Linked DNA regions of Homo sapiens: region 2 is linked to region 1. The links are contacts of gene promoters, found by promoter capture Hi-C in blood cells and fetal thymus (Javierre and others, 2016). All regions are on one chromosome and are shown on one strand. The core of a region is centred on a gene start or on the middle of the fragment in contact, and the rest is flanking DNA. Distances in the headings are between cores, read along the strand shown.

Region 1 (5,009 bases), core at 1,982-4,481:
CCTGGTTCAAGCGATTGTCCTGCCTCAGCCTCCTGAATAACTGGGATTACAGCCATGAGCCACCACACCCAGCTAATTTTTGTATTTTTAGTAGAGACGGGGTTTTACCACGTTGGTCAGGCTGGTCTTGAACTCCTAACCTCGTGATCTGCCACCTCAGCCTCCCAAAGTGCTGGGATTATGGGCGTGAGCCACCGCACCCAGCCACTTTTTGTAGAGACAGGGTTTTGCCATGTTGCTCACTCAGGCTGGTCTCAAACTCAAGCTCAAGTGATCCACCCCACTTCCAGGTCCCAAATTGCTAGGATTACAGGCATGAGGCACAGCGCCAGGCCTTTTTTTTTTTTTTTTTTTTTTTTTTTTGAGACAGGGTCTCACTCTGTTGCCCAGGCTGGAGTGCAGCGGCGCAATCACAGCTCCCTGCAGTCTCAACCTCCCCGTCTCAAGTTATCCTCCCACCTCAGCCTCCCAAGTAGCTGGGGGTCCAAGTGTGTGTCACCATGCCAAGCTAATTTTTGTATTATTGTATTTCTTTTCTTTAAGAGGCTGGGTTTTGCCATATTGCCAAGACTGGTCTCAAACTTCTGGGCTCAAGTAATCTGCCCACTTTGGCCTCCCAAAGTGCTGAGACTATTGGGCTGAATTCATATTAAAGCAAATCCAGGCTGGGCACAGTGGGTGACACCTGTAATCCCAACACTTTGGGAGGCCGAGGCGGGCGGATCACATGAGGTCAGGAGATCAAGACCAACCTGGCCAACACGGTGAAACCCTGTCTCTACTAAAAATAGAAAAATGAGCCAGTGGCGAACACCTATGATCCCAGCTACTCAGGAGGCTGAGGCAGGAGCATCGCTTGAACCTGGGAGGTGGAGGCCGTAGTGAGCCAAGATTATGCCAACTGCACTCCAGGCTGGGTGACAGTAAGACTCTGTCTCAAAAAATAAATAAATAAAGCAAATCCAGACATCCCATTTAATCCTAAAACATAACTTTAATAGGCCGAAGGTGGCAGATCACCATGTTAAATGGCAGTGGGAACACAGAGGGAGGAATCGATAACTTTAGTGAGGATGGGAATGCTACGAAAGACTTCAGGCCAGGAGTGTGACTTACATCTGTAATCTCAGCACTTTGGAAGGCTGAGGTAGGAGGACTGCTTGATGCCAGGAATTTGAGACCAGCCTTGTAACAGAGTGAGACTACGTCTCTACATAAAAATTAAAAATTAGCTGGGTGTGGTGGCAGGCGCCTGTAGTCCCAGCTACTGGGGAGGGCAAGGCGGGAGGACCACTTGAGCTCATGAGTTAGAGGCTGCAATGAGCTGTGATCATGCCACTGCACTCCAGCCTGGTAACAGAACTAGACCTTGACTCAAAAAAAAAGAACAAGAAAAAGAAAGACAACAAAGAGAAACTAAGGACTTTCACAGGGAGTCTGGAAAAAGTTTGTCAGGCAAAAAAAGAACATTGCAGAAACAATAAAAGTAAGATAAAATCCTGAGGAAATCCTGAAGATGGGGCTTCTTACGGAAAATATGCTAAATTCTCTGTAATCAGAGCAACGGATGAAAAATTGGATGGAAAAGAAGGGGAAGAGACTGGGTGAAAGAGGAAGGTGTGTGTAAAGGCATGAGATATGTAAGAGAAGGACCAGAATGCATGCACTGTTTTTATATCTTGTTTTCACACCTAAGGAGGCCAAAATGAGTAATGTTGTTCAAGATGATAATTGCTAATAGGCCAATCAGGTATTATAAGACACGCTCATTGGTAAGTAGCTGTAGGGAGCAAATACTATCTTTGTTTCTATCATTTCTTTGATTACAAAGCTATCAATGATTTTTATAAATAATCAGAAGTGTTCTCGGTTTACACTGCACAAATTATCCTATTTAGATTACTTTGGTTCTTGCTCACCAACAATCTTTTCTTTCTTACACTTCGCTGGTTTTCTCCAAATTCCATCTCACAAAGGGGTCACTTTTTCTAGCAACTGATGTAATTCCATAAGCCGTGGGGAGCTGGTTATAACTTAAAACTGTTAAACAAATTACTTTCCAGTCACCTATATTGTCAACACATATTCTGCCTTACTCTCCCTGTACATAAGCACTGTGATTTCCCTGTTCTCTTTCTTTATTCCACTGGTAGTTCTTTTAAGATCCTCCAGCATTTCATAACACACATCTCTACACATAATAAAGCGTTTCTTGGCCGGGTGCAGTGGCTTGCGCCTGTAATCCCAGCACTTTGGGAGGCCGAGGCGGGCGGATCACTTGAGGTCAGAGTTCGTGACCAGCCAGGCCAATATGGTGAAACCCCGTCTCTACTTAAAAAACACAAAAATTAGCCGGGCTTGGTGGCAGGCGCCTGTAATCTCAGCTACTTGGGAGTCTGAGGCAGAAGAATCGCTTGAACCCAGGAGGCGGAGGTTGCAATGAGCCGAGATCGCGCCATTGCACTTCAGCCTGGGCGAAGAGGGAACCGCTCCGTCTCAATAAATAAACAAATAAATATAAAGCAAAGCGTATCTTTAAGATAACATGCTAAATTTCCAAATTAACTTCGTTTGCTCTTACGATCTACTCAAACACTAACAGGAGAAATGAACAAATTTGGGACTTGGATCTGGAGATGCTTCTCATATGGCCTTAGCCATAAGCACTTGAGAGCGGCGAGAAGCTCATTAAGGTTGAGGTCTTTGCCTCTTTCTGCTTCAACTGGGAGCTTGCTCTTCACTCTTGCCCTCTCAAGTATCTACAATGAAGAAAGTGAGGAAAGGAAAAAACCTGAAAAGAAGCTGCTTGCTGTTCTCCAAAAATGCAGCCAACAGTGCCATAAATCTCAGCATATCCTCGCCGGGACCAACGCTGGGGATAAGTAGCAAATTAGGAAGTCAGGCGAGAGTCCTTTAGGTTGAGAAAGCAGGGTCACTATCACTCACTTGGGGCAGACACCATAAGCAGCTCGGAAAGGTCCGGGTACATGCGGTCCTCTTGCAACTGACGGTCGATGAGCCGTCCAGCATTTTCCAGAGCTTCCTGCAGGGCTGCGGCAGATGTAGAGGCCGGCATCGCCGCGCCCAACAAAGAAGACGGCATCTCGGAAATCGTAGACACCAGGGTCCAGAAAAAGTCAAAAACCAAGGAGAAACAAGAAAAGATCCAAGAAGTTAGCTTAGATCCGCCGCCTAGGGCGCGCGCGCCAAACGAGCGCCTTGGCGCCTCGACATGACGCACTTCCGCTTCATCCGGTGGGGAACTGGAAGACGCCGTTCTGGCCTGGGAAGAGGAAGCTGTTGGGAGGGGGCTAGAGGTTGTGGGTGGAGCTAGGAGGCTGCTGATGCTTTCGAGGGGGTTGAGGGTTTTGGGGTGTGGCAGGGTAAAATTAGGGTAGGTTATTTAGGGAAGGGAGGGAGGGAAAGGAAGGGAAGGATAAAGGGGAGGGAACAGGGAAGGAGAGGGGCGGGATGGGGTTGGATAGGGTGAGGAGGAAGGAGGGAGGAGGGATACGGTAGGTGGGAGCTAGGTCGTGTGTCTGGCCTAGGAGGTTGGTCAGGTTCCGTTGGTTTAAGCGCGTGCTCGACCTGAGTCTTGGAACTTCCCGCGTCGGTATCCGCTAACTGCAGCTATATGAGTTCGCGCATGAGCGCGCAGTTTGGTTCTCCAAGTAACTGCTTTTGTGAGAGTAGTTAAGAATTGGTAGGTCGCTGTCACAGAGAGGGATATAAACCAGTATCTCACTATATTCTTCGCGGGCTTCAGTGTAAATTAGAATTCATCAGGCTTTTCCATTTGCGTGTCGCTGTCTTTTGACTTTGTTGCCCCTTAGTATAAAATACGTGTTTAAGAAGAAGCTGAGTGCAGGTGGACCGCTGCCGTGCTTTTTATCGTGGCAGAGATAGCAGACAGTTCTAATTCATCTTTCCATTCCCAGCGCTAGTATAGGAACTCGTATGAGATAGGAACCCAAGAGTTCATACAATCCTAAGAAACTGAATACTTGCCTTGTGCCTGGTGCTGGGACTATCAAACTAACACAGTGTTTCCTGTCCTTAAGGTGCTTCAAGCAGAGACAAAGGGCTTCATTATAATTTTTCTATTTGGATAGGTATAAACTATAGCAGGATAGGAGAAAGCAGAGAGGTAAAAGAGGCTTCATTTACTACAGAAGGCAACCTGAGTGGGTAAATCAAAGCACTTTTTAGAAAGCTGCTCTTATTTAGAATCTCACCTAAGAAAGCTTCCAGTTATGTTCTTCAGAATTTCACAAATCAATAACTGAATTACTCTAAATTGGTCTTTTGCTATTTGAATTACATTTTTACTCCCTCAAAGACTTGACTACATTTCTGAAAATTGAAAGTTCTTTGATGTTACCAATCTACACTTAAAATTTGACATAGCCAATATACCAAGAAAAACTGGATTTTTTATCATTGGTATATAGATAGGCAGTTGGGTCTCTAGCTGTGAGTTTACTTTATTTGGTAGACCATAGATTGAAAAGTGGTGGTCTGGCACCGAGTTTGTTTTTAATTTGAGACAAAATACACAAAGTTTTCAACTCCATAAATTGGAAGATTCAACAACGTTGCTGTGATATTCCTGCATAGAAGTAAAGCTCCCCAAAGTGTAATCTAACTAACTTAATTCATTGGCATATTGCCTATGCTTTCCCACTACAACTGCTAAACCGAGTAATTTCTACAAAAGACTGCAAAGCCTTAAATACGGACTCTGGCACTTTACAGGAAAAGTTTGCTGACCTCTTCCCTAGAACAGATAATTATGAATTTTTTTGGTCTTAGGACCCCCTTGATACCCTTAAAAATTATTCAGGATTCCAGAGAGTTTTTGTTTCATGTTGGTTACATCTATTAATATTTGTGAATAACTCAAACTGAAAATTAAAATGTTTAACATTGTATTTAAAAGAGTAACAAGGCCGAGCACAGTGGCTCACACCTGTAATCCCAGCACCCAGCACTTTGGGAGGCCAAGGCAG
Region 2 (4,759 bases), core at 1-2,500, 2.4 Mb before region 1:
ACTCAGATGATCCTCCCATGTCAGCCTCCCAAGTAGCTAGGGCTACAGGAACCTGCCATCATGGCCAGCTAAAAAACTGCAGTTACTTTTGCACCAACCTAAATATTTTCTTTGGAGATGGGGTTTTGCCATGTTGTCCAGGTTGGTCTTGAACTCCTGGATTCAAGTGTTCCACCTGCCTCAGCCTTTCAAAGTGCTAGGATTGCAAGCGTGAGCCACTGCATCCAGTTAAAAGGAGTAAGTTTAGTATCTCTGAACTTGTGTTTTCTTTTTTTTTTTTTTTTTTTTTTTGGAGACAGAGTCTCACTCTGTTGCCCCGGCTGGAGTGCAGTGGCACGATCTCAGCTCACTGCAACCTCCACCTCCTGGATTCAAGCGATTCTCCTGCCTCAAGCTCCCGAGTAGCTGGGACTACAGATGCAGGTCACCGCACCCAGCTAATTTTTGTATTTTTAGTAGAGACAGGGTCTCACCATGTTGGTCAGGCTGGTCTCAAACTCCTGGCCTCAGGCGATCCACCCACCTCGGCCTCCCAAAGTGTTGGGATTACAGGCGTGAGCCACAGCGCCTGGCCCTTGTGTTTTTTTTTGAGGTGAAGTGTAACATTTTGAAAGTTCTAAAAACAATGTGCTTGTAGCAGTTGATAACTAGCCCCACATACTGTCTCGGGGGATTCCTTTCCAGCAGGGTAGAAAGAGGTATTTGTACCTGCCATTAAACCTGTTGTACTGATTGTCACTCATCCCAGTATTCCTATAGCTGCTTTTAAAACACATGCACTGTCTCCAGAAGCATTGCTTGTTTTGGCAAAGAAGACATAGTCACATGGGCAAAAAGTCTAGACCGTGTCTAATCATCTCCCTCCATCATTGGTGTCAGACTCACTTCCCACCATCATTGTCCCATGCAGGCTGATGCTGCCAATATAGGGGCTTTAAACTTGTCTGGCCCAGAGTATCTTTGCTGAAGTGGAAGAACTTTATCTTAGGGGAACAATGATGAAGAAAGAAGTATTAAAACGGATACCATTATTATAAAGGAGGGAGGAAACAACACGGGAGAAAATGGGAGTAGAATCAGCAAGGGAAAAAAAGCAAAATGGGCAATCAGAGAGAAAGGAGGCCAAAGGATGAGAATGGCGCTGTGAGAGTCATAAATGGTATTACCATATGACCTCAGGGAGAAATGACAGAGTACTAGGGGAAGTGGAAAGAGGCAGAAAAATTAGAAACAAGCAAGAAAAAGGTCAACAATGAAGGAGATTAAAAATTTTTTTTTATTTGGAAATGACACACTTAAAGGTAAATTGCAAGAAGAGAATATAGTGTGTCTGATTGACCTGTTACTAACGTTTTGCACAATTTGCATGTCCTCTTTCTCTCTACACGCTCAACACACACACAGTATTTTTCTGAATAATTTGAAAGTAACTTACATATATAGTGTTCCTTTACCTCTAAATACTTCACTATATCTTAAGAATAAGGTTATTCTCGCTGGGCGCAGTGGCTCACGCCTGTAATCCCAGCACTTTGGGAGGTTGAGGTGGACAGATCACCTGAGGTTGGGAGTTTGAGACCAGCCTGACCAACATGGAGAAACCCCGTCTCTACTAAAACTACAAAATTAGCTGGGCGTGGTGACGCATACCTGTAATCCCAGCTACTCAGGAGGCTGAGGCAGGAGAATCGCTTGAACTCAGGAGGCGGAGGTTGTGGTGAGCCAAGATCGTGCCATTGCACTCCAGCCTGGGCAATAAGAGCAAAACTCCGTCTCAAAATAAAAAAAAAAAGTAAGGTTATTCTCTTATGTAACCATGCTACAGTGACCAAATAAAAGAAATTATTAACATTGATATGGTATTTTTATCTAATTTACTACCTGCATTCCAATTTTGCCAATCAATTATTTATTAATATAGAATTTTTCTCCAATACAGAATGCAGTCTAAGAACATAATCTGGAACAGCTTGTGTTGTCTTTTATGCTGTTTACATTTTAGAAGTACACTGTTTTCACTTTTTTCATAGAATTCTTCTCATTTTGTCTTTGTGCATTTCCTCATGATTAGATTCAGGTTATGCAGCCCCAGGAGGGACGCCGCACAAGCATGTTGTGCTCTCAGGGATTCATAGCTGGAGACACGTAAAGTCCTTCTACCCCTCATTTGTCGTGATAATTTTCATCACCCAATCAAGGTGTCATCTAATTTTACTACTATACTACTAATTTTACTATAGAGTTAGTATTTTTTCCCTTGCAACAGGTTTTCCCTTGTAACATGTTTAATCTGTGAGGAGACACTTTAAAACTATGCAGATATCTTGCTTCTCATAAAAGTTTTCCTCATAGCTTTAGCATCTGTTGATGGTTTTAGCTTGCGTCAGTCTTTTTTATGATGGTTGCAGAATGATGCTTTTCCAGTGCCAGTACCCCCTCAAGTTTTTATCAGTTAGCACTTGGCCTTCTGCTGTAAACAGGAGCCTTCCCTTTTATCCATTTATCTATTATCAGTTTGAATTTATTTCTTTTTTTCAGTGTTTTATAATTCATTACTGACCTTTTCATGCTCAAATTTTTCCAGAATTGGTTAGTGAGCATTCCTTCAAACCACCCTTGTGTCCTTTTGACATGTGCTTATAACTTTTTTGGAGGACTTACTTTCAGACACAGGATCTTCCATTATCTCCAGGGCAGCTTGGTCTCAAGGAGAATTTTAGTAGGAAAGAAAAACAGCAACTAAAACTATAATACCAAAAGCCTGAACAGATGAGATGAAGTAGATAGTTGACAAAGTTTCCTGCTTTTTAGTTGATATAACTCTTGTAGCTTATGTTGTCAACCCTGTTTTGTTGAATGCTTTTTAGTTGCCTGTAGGTGTGCTGAGACAGACATTGCCAGCAGGGTTTTGAACACAGGGATAGAGATGTGTCTGAATGTACGTTACGGTGGTGAGAGTGAGAAAGGAGACCTCTCCTGAGAAGGTGAAAAGCAGCTGTTGAAAAAGCAAGAGGCAGTAAACTGCTCTTGTATTTCAAGCCTTCCCACCACCATTTCTCTAGTCCAGGGGGCTCTTCCTTTTAACATTAAAATGTGTGTCTTCTAATTTCCCAGTGATCCCTCCAAGTCTGTGGGATGGCCTGGAATGTAAAAACACTTAGCAAATACTTAGTGATTAAAAGAAAACAATGGCGGAAGCTTTAAGAATTGAAAAATCAAAATAATAAGTAGAGAATTTGTCCAAACCTCCCCCTGCCGACATTCCCCCATCCCCAGAAAGGAAGAAAATGTATGTAGATAAAAGGACAGAGAAAGACAGGGAAAGCTGTGGTACGGAAAGAAAGAGTGTGGCCACGAGCTTCCAGTATGCTCACTGCCAAGGAATCCTGACACGTTCTGTTTCTCTGTATAAAATCATGAACAAATAAAAAAAAAGAAAAAAATAAATAGAATCAGAAACGTTTTGCTTAGTGGGAAAAAAGCTAATTTTATCTTGGTTGCAGTTATCCAGCAACATTATCTGGACACGTGAACTAATTTTAGCGCAGCTGCTCACGTCAGATTGCTCTTTCAGCATGAAGAATCACGAGAAGTCAAAGAAGCATCGGGAAATGGTGGCCTTGCTAAAACAACAGCTGGAGGAGGAAGAAGAAAATTTTTCAAGACCTCAAATTGATGAAAATCCATTAGATGACAATTCTGAGGAAGAAATGGAAGATGCACCAAAACAAAAGTACTTCTAAATATTAAATGTCACTAGAAATACTTATCACATTCAGAGATTGCATTAAAAGGTTTTTTTTGAGATGGAGAATCACTCTGTTGCCCAGGCTGGGGTGCAGTGGCGCAGTCTCAGCTCACTGCAACCTCCAACTTGTGGGTTCAAGTGATTCTCCTCCCTCAGCCTCCCAAGTAGCTGGGACTACAGGCACACACCACCACGCCCAGCTAATTTTTGTGTTTTTAGTTGAGACAGAGTTTCACCATGTTGGCTAGGCTGGTCTTGAACTCCTGATCTCAGGTAATTCACCTGCCTCAGCCTCCCAGAGTGCTGGGGTTACAGGTGTGAGCCACTGCGCCCGGCCTTAAAGGCTGTTTTATCCCAAGGAAGTTATTCTAACTAGAAAAGATTGTCTCCATATTTTCTAGTTAATGGAACTTTATAGTGTTGAAGTGGATACAGACGTCAACTATAATATTTATAGAACATATTATCACTATATTAAAAGCAGTTTTTATACCTGGCAGTTGATAAGCTAATTACTATCCATTGAACTACAGCCTTGTGTTATTCTCTAAAATGACAATGTGAATACTTTATTTTCCTTTTAATGCTTTAAGATATTAAATATTTTTAATCTTTTACTTCTGTTTTACTACTTTATCACTAGTGTTTCAACTTTTTTTTTTTTCCACTTACTCTTCACAGAGTCAAGTATTTGACATTTCGATTTATATTTGCTCTTAGGCTTTCTAAAAAACAGAAGAAAAAGAAACAGAAACCAGCACAGGTATGTTAGAAAGGTTTTGTTAACATTAAATGCCAACGATAAAGTTGCAGTGCTCTTATTTATTCAGTGTAGTCTGTGTTAAGGAGAGAAACTTATACTCCATAATTTTATGTTGATTGTAAGATTGATTAAAAAGGAATTAGAAATATTTTCCTTTTTTAGTGCTTCCCCCCCCTTGTATGTATGTAATAACAAACTTAATTATGACTGCCAGTGTGTTTAACAAGTATGCATGTAGAATTCCCCTG

Evidence for each region. The method cuts DNA at HindIII sites, captures the fragments that hold promoters and counts their contacts. A CHiCAGO score of 5 or more calls a contact.
Region 2: a fragment that was not itself captured here is called in contact with the fragment with the promoter of NUP155 in region 1 in 2 of 17 cell types (naive CD4 T cells and total B cells); the score reaches 6.0 in naive CD4 T cells.

The regions. Positions count from the first base shown.
Region 1 is chr5:37,367,875-37,372,883 of GRCh38, forward strand. It overlaps NUP155 (nucleoporin 155), which reads right to left and starts at 3,232. Exons shown (of 35, transcript NM_153485.3): 1 at 2,947-3,232. The coding sequence starts at 3,103. RefSeq lists enhancers at 2,905-3,014, 3,135-3,224. The HindIII fragment of the contact is 10,669 bases long and covers 1-4,242 here.
Region 2 is chr5:34,941,293-34,946,051 of GRCh38, forward strand. DNAJC21 (DnaJ heat shock protein family (Hsp40) member C21) reads left to right here. Exons shown (of 12, transcript NM_001012339.3): 8 at 3,575-3,733; 9 at 4,469-4,511. Among named protein-coding and RNA genes, the nearest start is that of DNAJC21, 14 kb to the left of the region's middle. The HindIII fragment of the contact is 3,892 bases long and covers 1-3,196 here.